Linked DNA regions of Homo sapiens: regions 1 and 2 are each linked to region 3. The links are contacts of gene promoters, found by promoter capture Hi-C in blood cells and fetal thymus (Javierre and others, 2016). All regions are on one chromosome and are shown on one strand. Each heading gives the region's core, a stretch centred on a gene start or on the middle of the fragment in contact. The rest is flanking DNA. Distances are from core to core; before and after follow the strand shown. Region 1 has its middle 360 kb from the start of LINC03024. Region 2 has its middle 340 kb from the start of LINC03024. Region 3 holds the start of ZFAT (zinc finger and AT-hook domain containing).

Region 1 (4,741 bases), core at 1,268-3,767, 670 kb after region 3:
GGAGGATTTTCTCAACCATAAAATGTCAGGGCTGAAAGGAATTGGAGTAAGTATGTGGTATGCACCTTTACTTCACAGATAGGTGACTTGGAGCTTTGAGAGAAAACAGTTATTCAAGGTTTTAACCAAAGATTCCTTGACCAGTGCTCTTCTGAGTACAATGGGATCTGTGGAAATTTCTCTTCCATCCTAAGAGGGTCTCTGTCTCGCAACTGTCCCTGAAACTCTTAGAGAAAGAGCAGTCAGCTCTCACTTCCTGGTTTAAGTTCATGATTCTTACATGCTGTCTTCTCTAACCACATCCTCTAAACACAGTTTTAGGCAAGCCAGAACAGTTGCTCACCCTAGGAGAAATGGATAATTGGTGAAGAGTATTACTGCCTGCTACATCCACCATGCAAGAGACTTAAGCTTTCAGAGCCTCAGTAACTTTGTGCAAAAAATGAGAATAATACTGGCCTCAAAAGCTGTGTGTGATGTGTGAATGATGTCAGGTTGTGTTATCTAACTAAGATTAATGAGGAGAGGGGATTGATTTATTCTAAAGAATTGGCTCACAGGATTATGGAAGCTGGCAAGTCGAAAATTTGCAGAAGAGGCTGAAAGCCTAGAAATTCTGACAAGAGTTGATATTTTTGATGTTGCAGCCTTGAGTTTCAAGGCAATCTGGAGGCAGAATTTCTTCCTCATGGAGGAACCTCAGTCTTTTCTCATAAGGCCTTCGACTCATTGGGTGAGGCCCACCCACATTATTAAAGCAGGGGGTTAATCCACTTTATTCATGTACTGATTTAAATGTTAATTACATCTAAAAATAACTTAGAAGCAACATCTAGTCTGGTGTTTAACCAAACATCTGGACACAAGAGCCTAGCCAAGCTGACACACATGATTAACTATGACACATATTCTTAGCATAGTATGAGCTTCTAGTAAGTGTCAAGTAAATGTTAGGACTTTTTCTTGACTTTCTTTTCAAAGCATTTATTAGTTTCTTTTATCATAGGAGATGCTAATTTTGAAAATTCAAAATTATCAAACAAAAATGGTGCGATATTTCACAATACAAAAATTCTTCTGGGTCATTACGGTTATGTGATAGGCCATTTTCTTAAACACAATTAACTGTATGATTGAGAGCTATGTTTAACAAACATTGATTAAATATTCATTACATACTTAGAGCTCTTCAGGGTACTAAGGCTATAAATAAGAAAGGCAGCATCCAGTGTCATCAGATATCCCCAAATCCAGTGAAGGACTGGAAGCGTATTTATCATTAATTGGGGTGAATCTTGTAATAGCATATGTACAAGGCAACACACAAATACTGTGGAGGGAGAAACTGACTATGCCAGGAGGCTCAGAAATAGTTCCAAGGACATGTGACTTTTATGCTGGCAGGCAATGCTTTAAAAGCAGACTAAGTATAGCACTTTGCACCGCACAAAGCAGGAAGATCTGAAAGAACATTCATAGTATAGTCAAGTGATGGCAAGACACTCACAGGGCCTTCAGAGCAGAGTGAACGGAATGTTATCTTTCAAAATCACACTGGACCTTCTCATCCATCTCTCTAGGAGTCTGCTGGGCTTGCCTCTTTGTGCTGAAATTGAGCATCGTAGCAGGGCCTGAAGTTGCTTCACAAATGGGGTCCTTTGAATGTTCCCATAATTATCTCTGGGCCTTTCTGCACACAATATGCCTGTCCAGGACTGCATGCTAATGATTCTTCCTATAGTGCTTTCAGCTCATCCCTGTTTCTCATCAGACAAAACCCACATGTACTTCAATGCTCAGATTGTGTGAAATCTTCCTTCAACCCTTTTCTATCTTCTCAACAAACTTAATTGTTTTCTCCTCTGATCTACCATATGACTCCAGACATATTTCTATTGCAGCATATAATACTCTATAATGTAAGGTTTTTTTTTGAGACAGAGTCTTCTCTGTCACCCAGCCTATAGTACAGTGACATGATCACAGCTAACTGCAGCCTCAACCTCCCAGGCTCAAGCTATCTTCCTACCTCAGCCTCCTGAGTAGCTGGGGCTGAAGGCATATCCCACCACACCCAACTAATTTTTTTTCTTAACTTTTATTTTCGTGGAGACAGGGTCTTGCCATGATTCCCAGGCTGATCTCAAACTCTTAGGCTCAAGTGATCCTCCCATCTTGGCCTCCCAAAGTACTAGGATTAAAGGCATGAGCCACCATGCCTAGCCCTGTAATGTAATTGTTTATGTATGTCTATTTCTTGGCCCCACAGGGTTAGAGTTCCTTCAGGGAGGTAGTTGTTTTACACACTGTTGCATGGTAGGATCAAGCTCTGTGGCCAGCACAAACTGGAAGCTCAGTATTTGCTTATGGAATTAATAAAATTTAAATAAAAACCAGGTGCTAGACACATAGTTATTGTTGAGTAGAAGCAAATGCATTGCAAGTTAAATTAAATATCTGTGACTATTTTAGAATTAGTATTTTTTCATGATGTCAATGTCATAACTGGTAAGGATGCTGAAAAAGACAAATGTGTTGAAATATTTTTCTGTGAGTTTGAAACAAATTGCCTGTCTTCTATTATGCAAATCCAGAATGTTGAGTCACAAACAATGGATCATTGCCCCTCAGATTAATGAAAAGAATGATGAAAATAAACCTCAGCTCTGGTTTAAAAGCACTTGAAAAGTAATGCCTCAAACAAATACAACTATAGCATAAACTGAGAAGGACCAAGAAAAGTATTCTTTTTAAAATTTCCCTTTATTTCTGGAGCAAAATTTATTTCTTTTAAAAAATAGTTATTCTTCAATCATTGTACATATTAGTAGAACCATTCTACATACTGGTCATTCAATCATTCTACATACTAGTCCCAGAGAGATCTTTCCAGAAGACAATCAGATCATATCATTTCCTTGCTCAAAAACATTCAGGTGTTCCCCATTACCAATTGATTGAAATTGAAACCATCTGGCTCTAACCCACTGCCTGATGTCAATAATGTAAAAAATATTTATTTACATTATTTATTACATAAATATAAATATATAATTATGATTAAAACAGTAGTGTAAATTATTTCCCTTTATTTCTTGAGTAGATTTGCTATAGAATTGCCATTTTATTGCTCTATTTTTGTCTTCTTATTTTTTCCAAAAAAAATGGCTTTTGGTTTATTGAGTTTTTTATCCTTTTGTTTTTTCTAACATGAATTTTTACTCATATCTTTATTATTTTCTGACTCTATATTCTTTAGGTTTTATCTTTTTTTCTAGCATTTGTAATTTTTTTTACTGAACTATATATCCAGAAAAGTGCATAATTTATAAGTGTAAGTTTGATGCACTTTTAAAAAATGAAGACATACATGTAACCACAACACAGATTGGGAAATAGAATGATACCATCACCAGCTCTAGAAATCCTGCTTGCACCTCTTCTTAATCCTTCTTTTGCCTCCTTTATAAAGGTAACCACCACTCTGACTTCTAGCAGAACAAGTTAGATTTGTCTATTTTTGCAAGATATTTTGATGGAATCATAGAATACTTACTGTCCTGTATCTGGCTTTTAAAATTCAATATTATATTGAGATTTAAACCCATGTTGTTGGAGATATATATATATATATATATAAAATTTATTTTCATTGTTATATAATATACCTTTTGATGAATAATATATTGTGACTTCTTTTTCTATTTTATTTTTAATAGAAATTTCCATTTCTCATTATAAATCAAATGTTGCTATAAATATTCCTGCACTTGACTTTTTGTTGCTCATTGGTATGAATTTCTGTTGGATATATATCTAGAAGTAGAAATGTTGGGTCATAATTAAGGTCTATATAGATACTGCTAAACAGTTTTCCAGAATGAAATGAAGGTTACAATTGTTTCACATATTCAATAATCCTTGATTTGGTTCGACTTTTTTAAAATGTTGCCCATTCCTGTGGTGGGTAGTGATATTTTATTTCGTTTGAATTTGCATGCCTCTGATGGATCCTTTATTGAGCACCTTTTTAATCTTTACTGCCTTTTCTTTCTTGAAGTACCTTCAAATTTTTAAATCAACTTTCCTATTGGATTGTTTATAGTTTGCTTATCAATTCATAGGCCCTATTTATATATTCTAGATTAGATTTTTGTCAAATATATGTCTTATAAATATCTTGTCTCTCCCAGTGGCTTTCCTTTTTGTTCTCTTAACAATGTTTATTGATGTGAACCAATGTTCTTAATTTTAATGAAATCTAAATTTTTAGTCTTCTCTTACAAAACTAATAACTTTTATATCCTATTTATGAACTCCTTCAGACAAGCAGAAGACCCTCAGCCACAACCACTACTAAGGTCTCTTACTCTGCTGCCTCCAAATTGGAGAGGAAACATAAACCCTGAGAACATACCAAAACTGTGGTGGGCGGCCTGGGGGTGCCAATTTGTAGTCTATAGCCACGACTTAAGTGGAAGAGGAACCCTCACTTGCAGAGCATTGAGAGGAAACATGGCTGCAACTATGAGGAAATACAAGGGAGACACACAACTGAGCAAGAGCCTACCAACTGACCACTATGCCTGAGTGCCACCTACTGGATCACACCACAAAGCTTCAACACGAAAAATATTTTGCTAACATACCTCTCTGTGAAGCCAAATATAAGAAGTCAGCTACAAATAAAGACCCTGCACAAACACACCAAAAGCAATTGCAACAAAAGTAAAGATTGACA
Region 2 (4,690 bases), core at 1,094-3,593, 690 kb after region 3:
CCCAGATCTCGTGAGAAGTCACCCACTATCATGAGAACAGCTTGGGAGAAACCCCCACCATGATCCAATAACCTCCCTGCCTTGACACGTGGGGATTACAGGTCCCTCCCTTGACACGTGGGGATTGCAGATCCCTCTCTCTACATGTGGGGATCAAAATTCGAGATGAGATTTGGGTGGGGACACAGAGCCAAACCATATCATATGGTCTTATTGAATGAATGATTGAATGAAAGAATGAATTTGTGACATATTGCAAGGATAGCAATTGCTAACCAGAAATAGGTTGGAGTCCAGAGTTCAGTGTCAACACAGAAACAGATTAAAGAAAGTGGATTGAACAGGTTGAAAGACATGGACAAACACAAAATAACAGATGAAGAGGGGGTAAAATTAAGTAACCAAAAAGAGATTAGGGTGGAACAGCATGTCTTAGCTCACTCTGCACTCTCTGCCTGGGACATTTTCAGCTCCCACACCCCCTCAGTCCTTGTCTGCCTTCTCCATCTAGTTGCTTCTTCCTCAGTTATTAAGATTCAGCCTAGATATATCACTATGGTATTTTAATTCCTTGTAAGGATGAAGATGACAATGTTGACAATAAGGATGATAATAATAATTATCTAGACCAAATTATCTTTTATTTTTCTTTTAAAGGCAAATAAGGACATGGTAGACATGAGCAGAAAATAAGCATTTCCTATTTGATTTCTTCAGTATTGTCAAGCCAAGCCTTATGTTTTTTAGGGGAAGTAGATCTGGTCCAGTGATGTTGACATTTCTCTGTGGTTTTGTAGAACTGTTGGGTTCCTTTAAGTAGTTGACTCCTTAGGAGTTTAGGGATTTCTGACCCTCCTCATGGGCAGACTCCACCCATTCTCCAGACTGTCATTCCAAAACCTCTTTCAGGGTACACAGCTGCGTTGTGTGACATTTCAGAAGAAAGCTCCACCAATGTGCCCGGGAAAATCCCAGCCAGCATAAGGGGCCCAGTGTTTACAATCTAACTCCAGACCACTGTGTGTCCTGGTGGGGGTGCTACTAGCTGAGTTTCAAGCATGAAGCTTGATTTCAAGCTAGTAACAAGAGAGTAAGGAAAGAAAGGTTCTTGGTGCAGAGAGGTCTCATGGCAGCTGGTCTATGAATGTCTTTCAGGTGCTTTGTGGGCTTTCTTTCAGAATATGAAGGTTGCTGATGAGGGAATGTCTCTGGTTTTATTTATACTGTGAACTATGTGTTTACTTGTCCTTTTTAGTTCAAATGATAGACATTGCCTCACCCATGTACAACACCACTCATCTTCCATTTATTCTGGAAACACTCAACTGGGGAGTGCAGGCTCATTCTGGGCATCTCCAGTCCTCATGAAGTGTTCTGTAAATCTCCCAAATTGGAGATCCAAATTCCCTGAGAAGGCAGCTGATGGGGAGAAAACATCATCTATCTTTCCTTTCTTCCACCCAAATATTTATCAAGGCATAATTCTGGGCATAGAACTATGCCTGATGTGAGGTTTGCAAGAACAAGAGAGGATGAACAATTTTTGTTTTTGAGACAGAGTGTCACTCTGTCACCAGGCTGGAGTGCAATGGCACGACCTTGGCTCACTGCAACCTCCACCTCCTGGGTTCAAGCGATTCTCCTGCCTCAGCCTTCCAAGTAGCAAGGACTACAGGTGCGCACCACCATGCCTAGCTAATTTTTGTATTTTTAGTAGGGATGGGGTTTCACCATGTTGGCTAGGGTGGTCTCGATCTCCTGACCTCATGATCCGCCCACTTCGGCCTCCCAAAGTGCTGAGATTACAGGCATGAGTCACCGCACCCAACCAGGATGAACAATTTTTATGGAACATCTGCAGAGACACAGCCATGCTCCTCAGCCCACTCATGTGAATTCGTTTTTAATCAACAAAACACTGTAAGATACATATTATTATTCTGGTTTGTTCTCCTCAAGAGAAAGTAGCCGTGTAGGAATATTAACTTGTCCACGTTCATAAAACCATAAGCAGCTAAGCAGTCAAGGGAGGAATCTCTTGACCTGGATCTAGCATCTGCTTCCTACACAGCCCCCATCCCTAGAGCTGGCTCCTAGGATCCCACCTCTCATAAGGTCAGTTAGATGGGTCCATGCTTCTCCTCCTGGAGATGTAGTCCCAGCTCCAACAATGTCCAGATCTAGTGTCTGCAGTCTCCTACATTTCTCTTGAGGCCTTTCTTCTGCTGCCTCCTGTTCCTCTTCCGCTCCTGTTTACTGTCTTCGAGAACCTTTTTTGAGCACTCGTTCACTGAGCATCACTGACTCCTTGGTATCATTAGGTCATAATGTCCCCTCGGTTAACAGGTCTCAGTTCCCCACTAAGTGCCCCTTGTGGTAAGGAAGTCTGTTCATTGCAATGAGTATTTAAAGTACCATCTAGCAGGGGAAGAGGACATTTTAAAGAGATTGTATGGGGTTTATAATAATGTCCCCACCAAGTTATCAGAAACCACACTGTAGACTCAGTCATCCACCCTACTTATATACGTGATGAGTTGAGTCAAAATGAATATCCTAAAAACTAAGAAGAGAAAATTGTCCTAATTAATAGCTCCCAGAGGCATGGAGAAGGCACAGCTGTGGATTATGGCGGTAAGGGGAAGAGGAGGAGCCTGATAATGTCAGGGAGCTAGAAACAGTCCAGTGTGTGGAGCTCAGCCCTGGAAGTCTACAGCCCAAACAGTAAATACAGGAGTTTAAAATGCAGGGGTTTGTGTACAGCTATGCTCTTAGCAGCATTATTCACAGTCACCAAAAAGTAGAAGCATCCCAAGTGTCCATTGATGGAATGAATGGAGAAAGAAAATGTGGTGTATATGCACAATGGGGTATTACTCAGCCTTAAAAAGAAAGGAAATTCTGGCACATGCTATGACATGGATGAACCACGAGGACATTATGCTAAGTGAAATAAGCCGGACATAAAAGGACAAATGCTCTATGACCCCACTTATATGAGGTACCTAGAGTAGTCAAAATTATAGAAAGAAAAAGTAGAAGAGTGGCTGCCAGGGGCTGGAGGGAGGGGAAAGGGGAAGTTGTTTAATGTGCATGGAATTTCAGTGTTGCAAGAGGAAAACATTCTAGAGATTGGTTGCACAATAATGTAAATGTTCGTAATGCTACTGACCTGGGCACTTAAAAATAAGATGGTAAATTTTATGTTTTTATGTTGTATGTATTTTTCCACAATTTAAAAAAAAATACAAGTTTTATCCAGATGGGTTTCTACAAACCCTGAGGATATAATTTGTGAATTGGGGTAGCAACTCTAGTTAAGGTCCAGACAATAAGTGGGTTGATGAGATAGAGGGAAAGAGAGGGCAGGGAGCAGAGAACTTCAGGTATTGGGGAGGTGGAAGGGAAGTTTCCAGACCCAGAGGTTGAGATGGAGTCTGCCCTCTGAATAGCCAGCGAAGAGCATTTCAAGGAGACAGTACAGTGAGTACAGTCTCTTCCACACAGGGGAAAAGCTGCAATCATAGAACAAAGGTGACTTCCCAGCACATGAGCTTGCTAAAGGGAGAATGGGCAGAAGTGAAAGAGGAGGTAAGAGACAATTGCCTATTTCAAAGCTTCCAATGCAGTGGGAAGCAGCTGAAATTTTATGCTAAAAGTAATTGAGCATGATTTTCAATAGTAGAGCATTAACTGAGTATTAATGTTAGGATATAGCATAGAATAGCAATATTTCCAAGGACCTGAGCCAGCAAGACTGCACTGGTAATGATGAGATAAAACTCTGTCGGTCAGACTTCTTCATGGGGAAGGAGTCAGGCTGAGTGAGGTCAGATCTGACTCTAGAATGCCCATAACCCCGTAAGCTTCCAGGGAGCCCTCCCATCCCCTCCAGAGCACAAAGCCTATGATCAGAGACTCCCTGAGTTCAAATACTGACTCCTCCCCTTAGCAACCGTGTGACCTTGAGCAAGTTACTTAATCTCTCTGTACCTGGTTTTCCTCATCTGCAAAATGAATGTGCTAATAACAGGGTATCACATTGCTGATATGAAGATTTTGTGAATTATGAGTTATCCTATGTGCTCATAATCATGCCTGGCACCTAATGAGAGGTATCTGAGTGATAGCTGTCAGGATTACTGTGGTTACATTGGATTCTCAGGGCCCCTGGATGGGGCCAACACACAGCAGGATCTTTGCCTTCAGTTTAGAGATGAGGAGACATGATCTCATGTTGATAAATAAAAAAAATACATGTGCTTAGGTCTAAGGCACCCCGTGAAGCAGCTACACAGAGATGGTGTTTGAATGAGCTTAATGATGGTACAGTGTAGGGAAAAGAGACTGCTCCAGGTGACCAGTGTGCAGAGGAGGGACTTTGGTTTAGCAGTGGAATCTTCCTGTTTCTCCATTTGCATCAGTTCTTCCACAAACTTGGGGCCTGAAGGTCCACCTGGGTTGCGTCGCATTACCTCTCTAGGCTTGAGCACAGAGGGGAGGCCCTCTAGCTGCTCTTCTGGAGCCCAGGTGGCATGTACAGGATTGGGAGTCATCTAGCTGGCCTTCCCTAAGCCTCAGCTTCCACATCTGTAAAGCAGGGTCATATCGCCCATCTTGCAGGATAGCTACAGGGAAGGATTAAATAGCATGAGGCACCATCCAGTGTCTAGTGTATGATATGTGGTCA
Region 3 (5,092 bases), core at 1,552-4,051:
GACACGAATATATTCAGTTGTGCAAATTATATTTCTTATATAACTAAATACCATTTCATGTCGATAAATTTATTGACACAAATTAATTCACATACTAGCTTCAAGAGGCCAACTGCCACCAGTGGTCAGCTGGGAAGCCGCTCTCTTCTAGGAACCATCACCGAGGCAGCTTGCCATTAATTATATACTTTCGAGTGATTTACATCCAATTCCACAAATGTGTCTTCATTAATTGAAGGCATTCTGAAATATTACTGGCAAATAGAAAGAATAGAGATGTTTGCTGATTGAAAATGTGCAAATCACATAGTAAGGCCGTGGAAGAGCCAGCTGTGGACTCATCTCTCCATTTACGAACCTGGATTCCCCCACAGAAAGGGGCCATCTCTTAGTCATTTCCATCTGCCTATGGCCAGGACAGTTTCCAGTAATAATAGGTGCTCAGTAACTCTTCTCTGAATGATGAATGGGTAGGAGGAAGAAAATGCCATGGGAATAGTGGAGAAAATCATAGCTTTCCAAATAATTAACCCAGAACCATCATCCACAGTCCACAATTTCTTCTTTTAATTTGTCTTCAGCAGTCTGAGGTAATTGGGTTTTGAGACAAATTTTAAATTGTTTCATTTCCAAAATTCGTTTGGTCACAACATCTAGGAGCAATCCATCTGCTAATCAATAAACAACATTTAAACGCTGCTGTGAGAAAGGCAAACCGGCACAAAACCAATACTGTCAGCAACCCAGAACAACTCTAATTTCCTGACAGAAATCGATTCACAGCAAAATAATGATTATTGTAAATATTTATAGTTCTAAAAGGAAACGCTCATCAATGCAGCTTTTTGAGCAGTTCATTTCCAAATAAAGATTCTGATGGGCCCCACCTAGCCATGTATCTTGTGGTGGAGGACGTGGTGGCTGTGAAGCGACTCTGTGGCTGTCTTGGAACTGGCTCTCTTGGAGGCTCTCCTGGAGGCCTGGGGGGCAGTTTGGGTACATTTTAGATGTGGTGGGGAGAGGAACACTGGGCATGGAGAGGCGAGATCCACACCTGGCTCTTCACTATTTTGCTGTGTAATCTCAGAAAGCCATTTGACCACTCTGAACATTCCATTTTCTCATCTGGAAAAGGACAATAATCATATTGCCCAACTTAACCTTCCAGATTGCGAGGATGAAATGAAGAAGGGGGAGGCTATATCTGTGAGCATATATTTAACAGACTGGACAACTTTAGGGTCTTTTCATGGTTCCGTATTTCCCAAGAACAGGGTTAAGGAGCAGGCGGGCAGTCTCCTGAGAAATCAGATGAGTCATCCTGAAGCTCAATGCCCAAGGGAGTTTTCCTCCTAAAAAATAAGTGACCCCAGAACGAAGTGTTCATTCAGTAATATGACTATGCAACAGGCGCTGAGAAAACAAGATGAAAAGGACCTATAAGGGCTGCTCAGGAAGCTCAGTCTAGTGAGGATGAACGCTGTGCAAACAGAGAAGTGGGGGATGGAGCTAGGCCAGTGAGACCAGAGCTGTGGGAACATGAAGTGTGAACTTCAGGGCTGTCCGAGAATTTCATGTTGAGCAGCAACCAAAGAGGGTTATTCCAGGAAAAGAAGAACAGGCAAAGACTAGCATTTCAGGGGAACCATGAACACAAATCAGTTTCCCAAACTTCAGTCTCCTGAAGTCTGCTTTTACACTTTTTTTTTTTGGGGGGGGGGGGGCATGTCTTTGCAGCATGTACACCATTTTAAGTTGACTGATTTTTGAAAATGTAAACGAACAATTTAAAAACTTTATATGACTACTGTAAGTGAAAAACGTTATTTGTCATGAACAGAAAATGACCTTAGAACATGGACCACATCAACTCATTACTCATGAAATAAATAACTGTCAGGCTCAGTTTGTTTCTGAGGCTAACGGGGTGACCATTGACAGAGGTAAGGGAGGGAGATAATGACAGATAGGAATGGATGCTACGTAGAAAATATGAAGTGTCTTGGAGGGTTACTTTAGATGGGTTTCGGGGGGTGAGGGTTAGGGGCTGGAAGATATCATTTGAGCCGAGGACTACAGTGTTGGAGCTAAACACCTTAACATCAAAACCAAAAACAAAGTCATTAAATTTCCACCAGACTCAGCTGCCTGCCGAAGGCTGTGCCACAAGCAGAGAAATGAATGAGCGGGTGTTGGAGGCGCGCACATCCAGTGCAGACTTGTTGTGGGACAAAAAGAGACGAGAGAGGAGGAAGTCGCCTTGTCACGTGTGATCGTAGGCCGCTCAGTGCTCTGTAGCCCCTAAAACCCAGCCGGGTGGCCCAAAGGAAAGCACCCCACGCTTCGGGAAACGCCGCAGCTTTGAGCGGGATGCAGGTTGGGAGCACCCCGATGGACACATCAGTAAACTGAGAGCAAGAAAAGTTAATTCGCTGCCCCAAGTTAGGTAGTGAGAGGTAGAGCTGGGACACGAAGCGCACCCAGAACTCTCCTTGCACGCCCAGCTCGGCGGCCCCACATGCCGCGGGTCTAGGGTCGCGCTAGCAGAGGCCTGGCACAACCGCCAGACTCCTGACCCCGAGATCCGCGCTCCGGACCTCCCGAGGGCCCCTCCCTGGGCGTGGCTCAAAACGCGGCGCAGCGGAATCCGTGAAGTGGGATAAAAAGCACGGCCTCCGACTGCGAGCATGCGCGTTAGCTCGGCCCTGCCGGGCCGCGCTCGGCGCCGGGGGAGGGTCACCCGAAGCGGACGTCCGCTACGCAGGCGTCTGCGCCCCGTGGGGAGGAGGGCGAAGACTCCATCCGCCATGTTGGATGCCGCAGATTCGCCATAACCTCGCCGGCTCTTTTCTTAAAAAAATAAAAATAAAAAGCGAAGCGTCAGCAGGGCGCCCCGCCCCCTCGGTCGGCACGGGAGGGGGCCCGGAAGAGCCCGAGGCTTTTTTTTCCTCCGCGGTGGGGCGTTGCCATGGAGACGCGGGCGGCAGGTGAGCCGGGCTGGGGGTTGGGGTGAGACGGGGTGGGGGTGGGGCGCGGCGCGGCGCGCGGAAAGCCGTTTCGAGCGTCGAGTCGGGAAGCAGTGCGCCGGCCGCCGGCCGCCGGCCGCCGGCCGCGGAGGGATCCGGGTCTGGGGAGGAGAGCGAACGTAGTTGCGTTCTGCGGCTCACGTTCAGTCGCTGGGGTATCCCGCCGCAAAAAAAAAAAAAAAGCAAGGCGGGAGCGAGTGGGAGAGCATGCGCCCGGCCGTTTCCACGGCAATGGGTGGCGTTGGGGCGCGGGCCAGCGACGGAACGCAGTGGGCGCGAGGTTCGAATCCCGGCGATGCCAGCTCTTTGACTGGACCTTGGCGGGGCTTCCTTCTTGCCTGGCCTCGGATTCCTCCTTGGCGAAATGAGTACCTCCTGCAGGCTTCCCGGCCGCCGGCTGGACCTAATAGAGTGACAGATCTTCCACTTGACACCCGGTGCAAGTCATTTAACCTTGAGCTTGGGGTCCTTCACCTGTAATTACCACAAGCTTCCACATTTGGGCACTGACTTAACACGTTTTGCTGCTCAGCTCTCTTGAGAACTCTAATTTGTAGGTCATTTATTATGAGGAACAGAAGTTCAGAGAGGTCAACTTTACACAGTTTAAAAACGACAGAGCTGGGGCTTTAAAAATTAACTTCCTCCAACTTGGGCTAAAATCCAAACTCCTGCGTGCTCGCCTGACTTGTACCTCCATCTTCTTAGAATAGGGCTTGGCTCATGTAAGTGTTCACTATATACTTAGTGAATGAAAGAACGAACGCGCTAACTGATCACGCCTGCCCATCAGTCTGGCTTTTTTTGCTGGAGTCCAAGTGACCTTTTGGAGATGCCCCGCACAGCTGCCTCTCACCAGCTTTATCTTCCGAGCCTACCAGTTCATCTACTGAAACATCTGTAGTGTGTGTCCCCATGCTGAAGGAAGTAGCGTGTCCTACCTCTAACCCCCAGGGACACCTTTCCTGACTTTAGTTCAAATAACAGCTTTGCAAGGATCCCCTCTGCACGCCAGGCAGGGGTAAAGAGCAGTCCCAGTCGTAGTCCTGCCTCCACCTGCTGCGGTGCTAGATGTGGGAGAATGTGTCCTGGAGTGACAGAGTGGGCCCAGAGCCGAATATTGGGTCAGGAGACCCGAACTATATCAGGCGTGCTTTTTTTTAATTTAATTTTTTTAATTTTTTGGGACAGAGTCCCGCACTATCACTCAGGCCGGGGTGCAATGGTGCAATCTCGGGTCACTGCAACCTCTGCCTCCCGCCCTCAGGTAAACCTCCCGCCTCAGCCTGCCAAGTAGCTGTGACCACAGGTGCGCTGATTAGCTGTGGTGCCCAGCTGATTCAGGTGTGCTGTCTTAGGTTAGCCTAAAATGAGCACCGGAGAGACTTGCTCTCCAAATACAGGTTGAGCATCCCTAATCCAAAAATCCGAAATCGGAAATGCTCCAAAGTCTGAAACTTTGAGCACTGACATGAGGCCACAGTGGAAAATTTTCTATCTGACCTCGTGAAGGTTCTCAGCAGAAATGCAGTTCCATAGCCGGGCGCAGTAGCTCACGCCTGTAATCCCAGCACTCTGGGAGTCTGAGGCGGGAGGGTCCCTTGAGTCCAGGAGTTCAAGACCAGCCTGGGCAGTGTAGTGAAACCCCATCTCTATTTTTCTCAAAAAACAAAACAAAACAACAGTTGCACAACTGTAAAGACGATGCTGTTAACACTCAGAAAGAAATGCAGGCTGAACAGCAGACTTAAAGCCAGCCGTTGTTTATTGTTCTGTTGTTTAGCAGCTGATGCATGTGTTCTGGTGATGCTGCTGTGCCGCTTAGGTACCTTGAACACCTTGTTTTTCACTGTATTAATGGTGTGTCATATTTTTTACTGGTAAGGACTTATGTGTAAATAAATGTAAGAAAGTGATTGTCTTATTGGTAGCATAGAAATTCAGAGTCGGGAATGATGGCGATGCCAGACAACCACAGATTGCCCATATGTGTGGCTGAGATAGTGACACCTTTGCTTTCTGATGGTTCATTGTACACTTTGTTTCATGATCAAAATTAAAAATAT

Evidence for each region. The method cuts DNA at HindIII sites, captures the fragments that hold promoters and counts their contacts. A CHiCAGO score of 5 or more calls a contact.
Region 1: a fragment that was not itself captured here is called in contact with the fragment with the promoter of ZFAT in region 3 in 3 of 17 cell types (M0 macrophages, naive CD4 T cells and non-activated CD4 T cells); the score reaches 7.8 in M0 macrophages.
Region 2: a fragment that was not itself captured here is called in contact with the fragment with the promoter of ZFAT in region 3 in 1 of 17 cell types (monocytes); the score reaches 6.8 in monocytes.

What each region holds. Positions count from the first base shown.
Region 1 is chr8:134,039,281-134,044,021 of GRCh38, reverse strand. No RefSeq gene overlaps it. Among named protein-coding and RNA genes, the nearest start is that of LINC03024, 360 kb to the right of the region's middle. The HindIII fragment of the contact is 4,207 bases long and covers 414-4,620 here.
Region 2 is chr8:134,019,919-134,024,608 of GRCh38, reverse strand. No RefSeq gene overlaps it. Among named protein-coding and RNA genes, the nearest start is that of LINC03024, 340 kb to the right of the region's middle. The HindIII fragment of the contact is 2,553 bases long and covers 1,067-3,619 here.
Region 3 is chr8:134,710,740-134,715,831 of GRCh38, reverse strand. It overlaps ZFAT (zinc finger and AT-hook domain containing), which reads left to right and starts at 2,801. Exons shown (of 16, transcript NM_020863.4): 1 at 2,801-2,987. The coding sequence starts at 2,969. RefSeq lists an enhancer at 2,790-2,969. The HindIII fragment of the contact is 8,105 bases long and covers 1-3,518 here.